5 separate regions of the Homo sapiens genome follow, and all the other regions are linked to region 4. The links are contacts of gene promoters, found by promoter capture Hi-C in human tissues and cell types (Jung and others, 2019). All regions are on one chromosome and are shown on one strand. Each heading gives the region's core, a stretch centred on a gene start or on the middle of the fragment in contact. The rest is flanking DNA. Distances are from core to core; before and after follow the strand shown. Region 1 overlaps KCNG2 (potassium voltage-gated channel modifier subfamily G member 2). Region 2 overlaps KCNG2 (potassium voltage-gated channel modifier subfamily G member 2). Region 3 has its middle 130 kb from the start of CTDP1-DT. Region 4 holds the start of CTDP1 (CTD phosphatase subunit 1). Region 5 overlaps KCNG2 (potassium voltage-gated channel modifier subfamily G member 2).

What was found. Contacts are between HindIII fragments. The study calls those that stand out against the background at their distance.
Region 1: a fragment that was not itself captured here is called in contact with the fragment with the promoter of CTDP1 in region 4 in 2 of the 25 tissues and cell types used here (mesendoderm cells and spleen).
Region 2: a fragment that was not itself captured here is called in contact with the fragment with the promoter of CTDP1 in region 4 in 1 of the 25 tissues and cell types used here (spleen).
Region 3: a fragment that was not itself captured here is called in contact with the fragment with the promoter of CTDP1 in region 4 in 2 of the 25 tissues and cell types used here (spleen and thymus).
Region 5: a fragment that was not itself captured here is called in contact with the fragment with the promoter of CTDP1 in region 4 in 5 of the 25 tissues and cell types used here (IMR-90 fibroblasts, dorsolateral prefrontal cortex, lymphoblastoid cells and 2 more).

The regions. Positions count from the first base shown.
Region 1 is chr18:79,837,787-79,840,486 of GRCh38, reverse strand. The region is part of intron 1 of KCNG2 (potassium voltage-gated channel modifier subfamily G member 2); the gene reads right to left. Among named protein-coding and RNA genes, the nearest start is that of KCNG2, 41 kb to the right of the region's middle. The HindIII fragment of the contact is 8,072 bases long and covers 1-2,700 here.
Region 2 is chr18:79,820,619-79,823,318 of GRCh38, reverse strand. All of the region lies in intron 1 of KCNG2 (potassium voltage-gated channel modifier subfamily G member 2), which reads right to left. Among named protein-coding and RNA genes, the nearest start is that of KCNG2, 24 kb to the right of the region's middle. The HindIII fragment of the contact is 3,710 bases long and covers 1-2,700 here.
Region 3 is chr18:79,549,433-79,552,132 of GRCh38, reverse strand. No RefSeq gene overlaps it. Among named protein-coding and RNA genes, the nearest start is that of CTDP1-DT, 130 kb to the left of the region's middle. The HindIII fragment of the contact is 8,578 bases long and covers 1-2,700 here.
Region 4 is chr18:79,678,519-79,681,218 of GRCh38, reverse strand. CTDP1 (CTD phosphatase subunit 1) reads right to left here and starts at 1,416. Exons shown (of 13, transcript NM_004715.5): 1 at 958-1,416. The coding sequence starts at 1,271. CTDP1-DT (CTDP1 divergent transcript) reads left to right here and starts at 1,474. Exons shown (of 5, transcript NR_136643.1): 1 at 1,474-1,825. RefSeq lists enhancers at 1,275-1,783, 1,784-2,291. The HindIII fragment of the contact is 29,025 bases long and covers 1-2,700 here.
Region 5 is chr18:79,859,094-79,861,793 of GRCh38, reverse strand. All of the region lies in intron 2 of KCNG2 (potassium voltage-gated channel modifier subfamily G member 2), which reads right to left. Among named protein-coding and RNA genes, the nearest start is that of KCNG2, 63 kb to the right of the region's middle. The HindIII fragment of the contact is 4,051 bases long and covers 1-2,700 here.

The DNA.
Region 1 (2,700 bases), core at 156-2,655, 160 kb before region 4:
ATGATACATCTCTCCATTTATTTAGATTATTTCTTTTATTTGCCTTTTGTAGTCTTCAGCATTAAAGTTCTATATGTGTATTGCTAGACTCATACCTAAGTATTTCATTTTGTTGAACAATTGTAAAGGGTATTATATTCTATGTTTAATTTTGATATCCATGTGTCTTGCTAGTGTATTGATTTTGTATGTTTATCTTATGTCTTGCAATCTTGCTGAATTCATTTATTAGTTCTAAGAGTTTTTTTTGGCTTTTTGTAGATTTCTTGGGATTTTCTGTGTATACAATCATGTAATTTGCAAATGGGGCAGTCTTATTTCTTCCTTTATAACTTATATACATTTTATTTCATTTTATTACCCACTGCAGTGACCAGAGCTTTCAGTTATATGTTGAATAAGAGTGATGAAAGTGAGCATTTTTGCCTTGTTCTCCATCTGAGGGGAAGAACATTCAGTCTTTCACCATTAAGTGTATGTCAGCTAAGGTTTTTGTAGATACTCTTTATCAAGTCAAGAAACTTCCCCTTGATTCCTATATTCTGAGAATTTTTATCAAAAGAGGTGTTATTTAAAAAGTTTTTTGCATCAACTTATATGATTATGTGATTTTTCTTTAGCCTGTCAATATGGTGCTTACACTGATTGAATTTAAATACTGAATCATCTTTGCATCCCTGGAATAAACTCTCCACTTGGCCATGGTGTATAATTCCTTTTACGTATTGCTGATTTCTATTTGCTAATATTTAATAAGGTTTTAGAAAATGTTCCCTCCTCTTCCATTTTTTGGAAAAGACAGTATAGATTGGTGTTAATTCTTCCTTAGATGTTTACTCAGAGGTTTAGTTGTTTAGATGTTCTCCAGTGAAATCATCTGGGCTTGGAGATTGCTTTTTCAGGAATTTTTAATTTACAAATTCAAGTTTATTAACAGTTATAGGACTATTCTCATGATCTATTTCACACTGGGTGAATTGTGGTAGTGTGTATTTTCCAAGGAATCGGTCCAGTAGATCTGGGCTGTCAAATGTGCATGTAGAGTTGTTGGCAGGGTTCCCTTCTCACACTTCTGATGTCTACAGGGTATGCAGTTATGTCCTCTATTTTGTTCCTGACGTTGGTAACGTGTGTCTTCTCTCTTCTTAATTTTGTTGGGCTTGCCAGGAATTATTTATTTATTTATGCATTTAGAGTCAGGGTCTTGCACTGTTGTCCAGGCTGGAGTGCAGTGGCATGATCATGGCTCACTGCAGCCTTGACCTGGGCTCAAGTGATCCTCTCCCTTCAGCCTCCCAAGTAGCTGGGATGACAGGCATGCGCCCACATATTCTGCTAATTTATTTTTAAATTTATATTTTTGTAGAGGTGGGGTCTTGTCCAGGCTGGTGTTGGATTCCTGACTCAAATGATCCTCCTGACTTGGCCTCTCAAAGTGCTGGGGTTACAGGTGTGAGCCACTGCATCTGGCCAAGTTTATTCTATTGATCCTTTCAAAGAGTCGGCTCTTTGTTTCACTGCTTTTCCCTATTGTTCTACTGGGCTAAGCGCCATTGACTTCTGCTCTTCATTATTTCATTCCTTCTACTTGCTTTGCTCTTCCTCTTCTAGGTACTGCAGGTGGGACCTGAGATTGTACATTGAGGTTTTTCCTTTTTTCTAATGTAATTTCCCTCTTGACACTGTATAGCTTGGTCTCACAAATTTTGATATGTTGTGTATATATTTTCATTCTGTTCAATGTATGTTTTGATTTCCCTTAAGACTTCCTCTTTGGGCCAGGTGAGGTGGCTCATGCCTGTAATCCCAACACTTTGAGAGGCTGAGGTGGGAGGATCACTTGAGCCCAGGAATTCAAGATCAGACTGGGCAACACAGGGAGACCCCATCTCTACAAAAAATTTAAAAATTAGCTGGGCATGGTGGTGCACACCTTTGGTCCCAGCTACTCAGGAGGCTGAGGTTGAAGGACTGCTGGAGCCCAGGAGGTCGAGGCTGCAATGAGCCATGATTGCATCACTGCAGTCAGCCTGGGCGACAGAGAGACATTGTCTCAGGAAAAAAAAAAAAAAAGACTTGTTTGGCCCAAGGATTATTTAGAAGTATGATTTAAATTTCCAGTGTTTGAAGATTATTCTATTATTGATTTCCAGTTTTATTCCATTATGCTCAGAGAACCACACTGAGAACACTTATATGATTTCAGTTCTTTTAAATTTGTTGAGATTTGTTTTATGGTATACTTTTGATATGGTTTGGCTCTGTGTCCCCACCTAAATCTCATCTTGATTTGTAATCACCACATGTCAAGGGAGGGACCTGGTGGGAGGTGACTGGATTATGGGCCAGTTCCCCCCTGCTGTTCTTGTGATAGCAAGTTCTCCTGAGATTTGATGGTTTAAAAGTGAGGCACTTTCCCTTCACTCACTCTCGCTTTCTCCTGCCACCATGTGAAGAAGGTCTTGCTTCTCCTTCACCTTCTGCCATGACTGTAAGTTTCCTGAGGCCTCCCCAGCCATGTGGAATTGTGGGTCAATTAAACCTTTTTTCTTCATAAATTACCCAGTCTCAGGTAGTTCTGTATAGGCGTGAAAATGGACTAATACAGAAAATTGGTACCTGGAGTGGGGCACTGCTACAAAGATACTTGAAAATGTGGACACAACTTTGGAACTGGGTAAAGGGCAGAGGTTGGAAGAG
Region 2 (2,700 bases), core at 33-2,532, 140 kb before region 4:
GGTGTTCACAGCAGCACAGGTGGAGATGGCAAAACCCTGGAAACAGCCCAGTGCCCGCACAGAGCAAGGTCGCTGAGTAAACGCGGGTGTCTACACGGTGGGGCACGTGCCGGAAGGAGGAAGGTCTGTAAGGCCTGCCACGAGATGACTTCCAGGACATTAAGTGAGAAGGCAAAGTGAGAAGAAAGGCAGAGATTTGCCACCCATGGTGTAAGACAGGGGCCAGCTGAAATGCACAGGTGCCTGCCTGGCTGTGCAGGAGGAACAGAGGAGGATGAACAGAAACTAAGGCTGTCTCCCCATGGAGGGAGGTGGGAAGGGCCTTCCAGAGGCAGTGACTCCTAAAGCCTTGGGGTGCTCCACACGCTCTTCACATGCCACAAGTGAGCCACACCCACACGCAACACCAACGCCCACGATAAGCCCAGGTGCCTCACAAGGAATCCACAACCCCACGGAAGCGTGGGGAGACAAGGGCTCTCCCAGGTAATTGTGGAAAATGTGTTTCCATGAAATCCGGAGGCTAAAGACTAGAAGAGCCACACGCAGCAGGCTCCAGTCTCTCGGGGTGAGCACAGCACACGTTTGAAGGCCCAGCACGGTGCTCACACCTGTGATCTCAGCACTTTGGAGGCCGGGGTGGGTGGATCCCTTGAGGTCAGGAGTTCAAGACCTGCCGGGGCAACACAGCGAGACCCCCATCTCTACAAAAATTAGCCAGGCATGGTGGCTCACGCCTGTGGCCCCAGCTACTCGGGAGGCTGACGTGGGAGGATGCTTGAGCCCTGGAGGCTGAGGCTGCAGGGAGCCATGACTGCAACACTACACTCCAGCCTGGGGGACAGAGTGAGACCCTGTCTCAAAAAAATAATAACTTTAAAAAGTATCAATATTGTGAAAAACAAAAACGAAAAACAAACTGGAGAGCTATTACAGACGGATGATGGGAACGATGGTGAGGGGCCCTGGACAGAACCGTGGCTCTAGTATGAAGAACGCGGTGACATCTGAGTGGGGTTTTAAAGTAGTGACCAGGGCGGGGCCAGTGGGAATCCCTGGTCTGGACCATTCTGCCAACACTGGAGGAAGCTGGGTGGGAGACATGGGAACCTCTATGAATCTGCAACTTTCCTATAAGTCTAAAAATCGTTCAAATAAAAAGCTTTTAAAAATCTAACATTTCCTGCTTAAACCCCAGGACAATGGTACAAAAGGCACCTTGAGTCTGAATTTGACAAGTTTTACTGAAGCCTTCACATCCCAGCCCCAAATATCAGTGCTGGGATTTCCTCACAACAAACCCATCTGGCACATTCACTCAGCCCACTTCTAGAATGGCCTACAAAAAACAGTGCTTTTTTGCAGAAATGAAAAAGCCCGTCCTAAAATTCATATGGAGTCTTAACGGACCACGAATAGTCAATACAATTTTGAAAAAGAAGGGCAATGATAGAGGCCTCACACTTCCAATCTCAAAGGTGCTGCCAAGCTATGGCGATCAAGATGCATGGCCTGGCCTGTGGACAGACAGGGCAGTTGAGGGCGGAGCAGGACGCCCAGAGATGAGCCCTACACCTATGATCAAGTGATTTTGGGAAAAGAGTGCCAGGACCATTTAATTCAGGAAGGAGGCCCTTCCTAGTAAATGGCACCAGGAAGATGGGGATGTGCTCACACAAAAGGGTGCAGCTGAGCCCTACCCCACCCCATATACACAATTCAAGTAAAAGGCCAGGCGTGGTGGCTCACGCCTGTAATCCCAGCACTTTGGGAGGCCGAGGCGGGTGGACAACCTGAGGTCAGGAGTTTGAGACCAGCCTGGCCAACATGGTGAAACCCCGTCTCTACTAAAAATACATAAATTAGCTGGGTGTGGTGGTGGGTGCCTGTAATCCCAGCTACTTGGGAGGCTGAGGCAGGAGAATCATTTGAACCTGGGAGGCAGATGTTGCCGTGAGCCAAGATTGCGCCACTGTGCTCCAGCCTGGGTGACAAGAGCCAGGCTCTGTCAAAAAAAAAAAAAAAAAAAAAATTCAAGTAAAAATGGGTTGACGGCCAAAATTTACAGATAAAACTATAAAACTCTTAGAATAAAACATGTGGTCAAATCTTCATGATGTTGGATTTGGCAATGGTTGCTTAAATGACATCAAAAGCACAGGCAACAAAATAAAAATAGATCAACTGAGCTTCATTCAAATTAAAAACTTCTGTGCATCCGAGGACACTATCAACAAAATGAAAGCCCACAGACTGGGGGAAAATATTTGCAAATCACATATCTGATAAGGGCTTAATATCAAGAACATATAATGAGTTTCTCTAACTCAGTAACTAAAGACAAACAACCAAATCTAAAAATGGGCAAAGGGGCTAGGCATGGTGGCTCACACCTGTAATCCCAGCACGTTGGGAGGCTGAGGTGGGAGGATCACTTGAGTCCAAGAGTTTGAGATCAGCCTGGCAACATAGCGAGACCCTCTCTCTACAAAAAATACAAAAATTAGCTGGGTGTGGTGGTGCATGCCTGGAGTCCCAGCTGCTCCAGGGGCTGAGGTGGGAGGATTGCTTGAGCCTAGGAGGTTGAGGCTGATTGCACCTCTGCACTCCAGCTTGGACAACAGAGTGAGACCCTGTCTCTAAATAAATAAGTAAATAAAATGGGCAAAGAACTTGAATAGCCTTTTTTTAAAAAATGTA
Region 3 (2,700 bases), core at 67-2,566, 130 kb after region 4:
CTCAGGGGAGGGAGGATGCCTGCCTTCCCGCCGTCCGCACCGCCCTGTCTGTGGGTCTGTGAGGCTTTGTCGCCTGCCTTCCCGCCGTCCGCATCGCCCTGTCTGTGGGTCTGTGAGGCTTTGTCACCTGCCTTCCCGCCGTCCGCACCGCCCTGTCTGTGGGTCTGTGAGGCTTTGTCACCTGCCTTCCCGCCGTCCGCACGGCCCTGTCTGTGGGTCTGTGAGGCTTTGTCGCCTGCCTTCCCGCCGTCCGCACGGCCCTGTCTGTGGGTCTGTGAGGCTTTGTCGCCTGCCTTCCCGCCGTCCGCACCGCCCTGTCTGTGGGTCTGTGAGGCTTTGTCGCCTGCCTTCCCGCCGTCCGCATCGCCCTGTCTGTGGGTCTGTGAGGCTTTGTCGCCTGCCTTCCCGCCGTCCGCATCGCCCTGTCTGTGGGTCTGTGAGGCTTTGTCGCCTGCCTTCCCGCCGTCCGCACCGCCCTGTCTGTGGGTCTGTGAGGCTTTGTCGCCTGCCTTCCCGCCGTCCGCACCGCCCTGTCTGTGGGTCTGTGAGGCTTTGTCGCCTGCCTTCCCGCCGTCCGCATCGCCCTGTCTGTGGGTCTGTGAGGCTTTGTCGCCTGCCTTCCCGCCGTCCGCACCGCCCTGTCTGTGGGTCTGTGAGGCTTTGTCGCCTGCCTTCCCGCCGTCCGCACGGCCCTGTCTGTGGGTCTGTGAGGCTTTGTCGCCTGCCTTCCCGCCGTCCGCACCGCCCTGTCTGTGGGTCTGTGAGGCTTTGTCGCCTGCCTTCCCGCCGTCCGCACCGCCCTGTCTGTGGGTCTGTGAGGCTTTGTCACCTGCCTTCCCGCCGTCCGCACCGCCCTGTCTGTGGGTCTGTGAGGCTTTGTCACCTGCCTTCCTGCCGTCCGCACCGCCCTGTCGGTCTATGAGGCTTTGTCACCTGCCTTCCCGCCGTCCGCACCGCCCTGTCTGTGGGTCTGTGAGGCTTTGTCACCTGCCTTCCCGCCGTCCGCACCGCCCTGTCTGTGGGTCTGTGAGGCTTTGTCACCTGCCTTCCCGCCGTCCGCACCGCCCTGTCTGTGGGTCTGTGAGGCTTTGTCACCTGCCTTCCTGCCATCCGCACCGCCCTGTCGGTCTATGAGGCTTTGTCACCTGCCTTCCCGCCGTCCGCACCACCCTGTCTGTGGGTCTGTGAGGCTTTGTCACCTGCCTTCCCGCCATCCGCACCGCCCTGTCTGTGGGTCTGTGAGGCTTTGTCACCTGCCTTCCCGCCGTCCGCACCGCCCTGTCTGTGGGTCTGTGAGGCTTTGTCACCTGCCTTCCCGCCGTCCGCACCGCCCTGTCTGTGGGTCTGTGAGGCTTTGTCACCTGCCTTCCCGCCGTCCGCACCGCCCTGTCTGTGGGTCTGTGAGGCTTTGTCACCTGCCTTCCCGCCGTCCGCACCGCCCTGTCTGTGGGTCTGTGAGGCTTTGTCACCTGCCTTCCCGCCGTCCGCACCGCCCTGTCTGTGGGTCTGTGAGGCTTTGTCACCTGCCTTCCCGCCGTCCGCACCGCCCTGTCTGTGGGTCTGTGAGGCTTTGTCACCTGCCTTCCCGCCGTCCGCACCGCCCTGTCTGTGGGTCTGTGAGGCTTTGTCACCTGCCTTCCCGCCGTCCGCACCGCCCTGTCTGTGGGTCTGTGAGGCTTTGTCACCTGCCTTCCCGCCGTCCGCACCGCCCTGTCTGTGGGTCTGTGAGGCTTTGTCACCTGCCTTCCCGCCGTCCGCACCGCCCTGTCTGTGGGTCTGTGAGGCTTTGTCACCTGCCTTCCCGCCGTCCGCACCGCCCTGTCTGTGGGTCTGTGAGGCTTTGTCACCTGCCTTCCTGCCATCCGCACCGCCCTGTCGGTCTATGAGGCTTTGTCACCTGCCTTCCCGCCATCCGCACCGCCCTGTCTGTGGGTCTGTGAGGCTTTGTCACCTGCCTTCCTGCCATCCGCACCGCCCTGTCGGTCTATGAGGCTTTGTCACCTGCCTTCCCGCCATCCGCACCACCCTGTCTGTGGGTCTGTGAGGCTTTGTCACCTGCCTTCCCGCCATCCGCACCGCCCTGTCTGTGGGTCTGTGAGGCTTTGTCACCTGCCTTCCCGCCGTCCACACGGCCCTGTCGGTCTATGAGGCTTTGTCACCTGCCTTCCCGCCGTCCGCACGGCCCTGTCTGGGGGTCTGTGAGGCTTTGTCTCGGCCACCCCAGGACAACGACGGGGTCTCCTGGGAGCTCCCTCTCGGCCCCACACACGTCCTCCCTTCCCACTGCCCGTCACAGTCCAGTGGGGCCTGGGATGTGAAGGGCCCCCGGGGGATGAGGTGACACTCCTTCTGCTCCACACACACGGGTTCAGAGCCCCCAACTCCCCATCCCCGCGAGCCGTGGGAGTTGGCGCCGCTGGCGGAACCCATCTGCCCGAGCTCCTGGGCAGGTCCCAGCAGAGGTGCTGAGAAAAAGTCAGAGAATTCAGGAGACAAGCGGCTGGCAGAGCAAAACCAGAAGCAAAATAAAATAACCAGCGCCCCTGGCAACACGTAATAAACCCCGCATGCAGTGGGCACCTCGGATGCCTTGGGTCTGGAGGACACCACAGCCCGGGACCCAGAGCCTGGCCGGGCCCGAGAGACGCCACCGGTGTGAAGGGTCCAGTCCTGGGGGAGCCAGCGTGTGAGTGACCCCGT
Region 4 (2,700 bases), core at 167-2,666:
GGCTGTGACGGGAAGACTCCTGTCCCAGTCCTCACTCTTGCGGAACCAGATGCAGAGAAGATCCTCAACAAACACAGGGTCAGGGCAAGCCAAAGGGACGAGGAGCCGCGGCTGCCGAGGAGGGAAGAGAGTGGCATCCCCAGAAGGAGCGGCACCTTTCCCAGAGGGAGCTCACGCCCGGCCCACTGCGGGCTGGAGTGTCCACCTCTCCCTGGAGTTTCTGTTCTCACAATCAAAACTACCAGAGCCAGGCGCACACGCGTGTCCACTTGCCCGCCCATCCCAGAACACAAGGGTAGATTCAAACATGGCTGGACACTTCGGTGCTACGGAAACATATCCCCTTCTGGGGTCAGAGCACAGCTACTGAGAGCTGTGGAGTCTGTCACAACGCCCACGTCACCCTGAAGCAGCCTGCGACAATGCCCACTGTGGTCAACCACGGGGCTACTGCCTTCGCTGCAGGCCTGGGTTCCGCCCGTTCCTTAGCCACGAAACAGAACTGCACCAGGTTTTACAACTGCGTTTCACAAAGTTTACAAAAATTTAAAGATGTGCACACACCCAACAGTTTATATTTCAATAACAGGTCTGGAGCCTGCCTGATGACTCTTGTGCTCACAGCCACCCATGAGTTTTCCTAAGTCACAAAGGTGGAGCTAAAGGAAGGGGCGGGGACTATCACTGCAGAAAGAAAGAAACAAACATAGCTTTTCCAAACAGTAACTTCGTGTCGCTACGCAGGACCCTTTCCTTTTATCTCAAAATGCTCCCCGTTGGTAAAACCACAGGTGGTGACTATCCAGTTTTAGGGGAGAAGCGCAGTGCCTGCGTCCCGCTTTATCGCTCCCTCACCAGGGGCGCCCCTGCCCACCGCGGACGCAGCAGCCCGGGGGTCCTCCAGGATCCCTCCCCGGAGCCGCCCGCCCTCGGCCCCGCCCGGCTCAGCACACTCACCCTGGGGCGACCACCTGGCCCGGCTGCGCGCACAGCTCCCGCACCACGCCCGCGCGCTCCGACCTCAGCCTGCGTTCCGGCCGCGCGGGGCGCACGCAGCCCCCGGAGGCTACACGGGACTGAGAGGCCCCGGAGGACTGCGCGGAGGCGGCGGCCTCGAACACGGCCAGCACCGAGCCGATGCGCACGGCCGCGCCCGCCGCCACCCTCCACTCCAGCAGGCGCAGCGGCGCGGGCCCCGGGCAGCGCACCTCGGCCACAGCCGCCGTCGGGGCGCCCTCGGCAGGAACGCGACCCGCGGCCGGCACCTCCATCGCGGACAGAGGGCGGGCGGGCGGTCGGTACGGGGCCTGCGCTGCGCTCAGAGCGCAGCGCCTACCGCGGCGACACAACCCAGGCGGCGACGCTGTAGTTCCTCTCGGTACCGGCTTCCACCCGTCGCCTAGCCCGCGCCGACTTCCTGGAGGGCGCGTGACGTCACGCAAGGGCGCCGCGTACGTGCGTACGTGCGCGTGTAAATACGAGCGCCGCGCGGGGCCGGAGCCGGCTCCGTCCTGGGACCAACCCTGCGTGCCGGCCGTGAAGAACTGCGTTCCTGAGCCCTACCTACTTTTCCTCGGAGCGCCGGCACCGTGGAGCAGCGGCATGCAACGCGGGCCGCTGTCGCCCAGTCCCAGTGACGGTCTTGGCGCGCTCGGAACTACGTATCCCGGCGTGCACCGCGGACAGAGCATGGCGGGACTACGAGTCCCAGCGTTCAACGCAGGCCTGCGTGCCATTACCCCATCACGCGCTGAGACCCAGCATCCCGAGACTACGAGTTCCGGCATGCACCGCGAGCCGCTCTCCTCCACTCCCATCGCGCACTGTGAGTCGCAACGTCGCGGGACTACGGGTCCCGGCATGCCTTGCGCGCCGCGGGCCCAGAGACGTGAGGCTGTCGGCGTCCTGGTGGCCCCGCCTCGTGTCCCCCCCCGGACCCCACGCCGCGGGAGCTTGGGGGTTGCGGTCTTCTCTTCCTCCGACCTCACCTTCGATGCGGAAGCGCAGGGGCAGGTGCGCCGCCCTCGGCCCGCGCAGGCGGTGGGCCCGTCTGGGGCAAGGCGCCCGGAAGCGCCTGGTTGGTTCAGAAAATCGGACCGCAGCGGGAGGGCGGGCACCGGCGCGTGGTCTCAGTGGCCCCAGGCGAACCCTGATGAGCAGCAGCCGCAAGTGGCTTACTAAAGGAGCCACTTTCTACGTTTGTCTGGAATTTACGTGAATTAAGCTGGCGGGCGGGCGGCCAGGCCTGTAGTCTCAGCACTTTGGGAGGCTCAGCACTTCGGGAGGCTGTGGCGGGCGGATCACCTGAGCCTGGGAGTTGGAGACCAGCCTGCGCAACGTAGCAAGACCCTATCTCTAAAACAGATTCATTAATACTTAGCCAGGCGCGGTGGCTGAGGTCCCAGCTACTCGGCAGGCCCAGGCTGGCCTGAGCCAGACCGCTCTGGACTGTTTTAATTTTTTCAGCCTTAATACCTGCCAGAATTTTTTTTTTACTATGTATCTTTGTCCTTACGTATATAAATTTTATATACAATTGAGATTATCCTGTATTTGCTTTTCCCCCCTCACTTTTATATGGTGACTTTTCTCATGTTAGGCTGAATACTAACATTTTGGAAACTGTCGGCCTGAAAACGAGCGGAGACACAGTTTCTCTAAGTAGAGAGTTTATTTGGGCCACACTTGAGCACAAATTCA
Region 5 (2,700 bases), core at 53-2,552, 180 kb before region 4:
CTGTGGGACCATCACATGTACCAGCTTTTGCATAGTGAGAGTCCTGAAAGGAAAGAGGGAACAGGGAAGAAAGAATATTTGAAGAAATATGGTTTAAAAACCCTCCAAATTCGATGAAAAACATTAATCTACACATCTAAGAAACTCAACAAACTCCAAGTAAGATAAATTCAAAGACATCCACACTGACACACCACAAACTGTCTAAAGACAAAGACCCGGCACAGTGGCTCATGCCTGTAATCCCAGCACTTTGGGAGGCCGAGGCAGGTGGATCCTCTGAGGTCAGGAGTTTGAGACCATCCTGGCCAACATGGCAAAAACCTGTCTCTACTAAAAATACAAAAATTAGCGGGGTGTGGTGGCAGGTGCCCGTAATCCCAGCTACTCGGGAGGCTGAGGCAGGGAGAATTGCCTGAACCTGGGAACGGAGGTTTCAGTGAGCCGAGATCGCGCCACTGCAGTCCAGCCTGGGTAACAGAGTGAGAACTCCATCTCAAAAAAAAAAAAAAAAAAAAAAGAGAGAGAGAGAAGAAAACAGAGGCAAAAATCCTCCACAAGACATGAGCAAAATAAATCCAGCTTCATATTAAAAGGATTATACATGATGACCATTTGATCGTTTACCATAGAGATTTATCACAGGAATACACGGGTGGCACAATACACAAAATTACTATAATACGCTCATTTATAGGATGAAGGGAAAAATCATGCGATAATTTCAATAGAGGCAGAAAAAGGATTTGACGAAGTCTAACATCCTTTCCTGATTAAACAAAAAACTCAATCAATAACTAGGTCTAAAAGAGAACTTCCTCCACATGACAAGGTCCACGTAGGAAAAACTCACCGCTAACTCCATAGTCAACGGTGAAAGACTGGATTCTTTCCCCTAAGACCAGGAACAAGACTGAAATACCTGCTCTCATCAGTTCTACTTAACATTGAACTGGAAATTATAGTCAGAAAAATTAGGCAAGAGAAAGAAATAAAAGGCATCCACACTCAAAAGAAAAAAGTAAAACTATATTTTGAGATGACTTGATCTTATGATCTTATGTACAGAAAACCTTAAAGAACACACACGCACACATACACATACACATGCGCACACACACACACACACATCACTATGAGAATGGGTTCAGCAAAGTTGCAAGACATGAGATCGGTAAAAAAAATCAGTTGTATTTCTATACAAAAGCAATGAATAATCGGAAAAGGAAGTTAAAAAAATTCCATTTATAAGAGCATCAGAAAGAATAAAATACTTAGAAATAAATTTAACCAAGGAGTGGAAACTGAAACCTACACTGAAAACTGAAAACTACAAACATTGGTGGAAGAAATTTTAAGACTAAATAAATGAAAAGACATTCCATGCTCATGTATTGGAAGACTTAATATTGTTAAGATGGCAATCTTCCCTAAATTGATCAACAGAGTCAATCCAATCCATATGAAAATCCCAGTAACTTTTTTGAAGACATTGACAAGTTGAACATTCTATTGACAAGTTGAAAATTCTATTGGAAATGCAAGGTAGCCAAAACAAACTTGACAAAGGACAAAGTTGGAGGGCTCAAACTTACTTGATATCATTTTATTACATGCCTCCACCTAAATCTTGTGTCGAAATGAGATCTGTTCGTTTAAAAGTGTGTGGTACCTACCCCGCAACCTTGTTCTTGCTTTCACCATGTAACGTGCCTGCTCCCCCTTTGCTTTCTGCCATAACTGGAAGCTTCCCAAAGCCTCCCCAGAAGCTTAGCAGACATTGGCACCGTGCCTCCTTTACAGCCTGAAGAACCATGAGCGAATTAAACCTCTTTTCTTTATAAATTACCCAGTCTCAGGTATTCCTTTATAGGAATGCGAACATGGACTAGTACATTACTACTTACTCAAAGTGAGTATAAAGCTACAGCAATCAAGAGTGTAGTACTAGTGTAAAGAGAGACATAAAAATCAATGGAGCAGAATTGAAAGTCCAGAAATGAACCCATAAATCTACCGTCAGTTCACTTTTGACAAGGTCGTCAAGACTATTCAATGGAGAAGTAATAGTGTCTCCAACAAACGGTTATCCACATGTAAAAAAATAAAGTTGGACCCTGCTATCGTTTGGATATTGGCCTCCAAATCTTATATTGGAATTTGATACCCAGTGTCGGAGGTGGGGCCTAATGGGAGGGGTTTGGGTCATGGGGGCTGATCCCTCATGCATGGCTGGGAGGTGTCTTCATGGTAATGAGTGAGTTCTCGCTCTATGAGTTCACTCCAGAGTTGGCTGTTGAACCCGCCTGGCACCCCTAGCCCTTGCTTCCTCCATCTCCGTGTGGTCTCTGCACACACCAGCTCCACGCCATCTTCTGCCATGACTGGAGCTGCCTGTGGCCTTCCTCAGATGCAGATGCCTGATCTTGAACTTTTCCAGACATCAGAATCATGATGACATCACAAGCTTCTTTTTAAAATGAATTACCTGGCTCCAGGTATTCCTTTATAGCAACACTGAATGGACCAAGATGCCTACATCACACTATATATAAAAACTAATTCAAACTAGATCAAAGACCTTAATGTAAGAGCTAAAACTCCAAAACACACGTAGAAGAAAACAGACTGTACATCTTCATGACCATGGATGAGACATTGGTTTCTGAAACAGAATGCCAAAAGCACAAGCAACAAAAG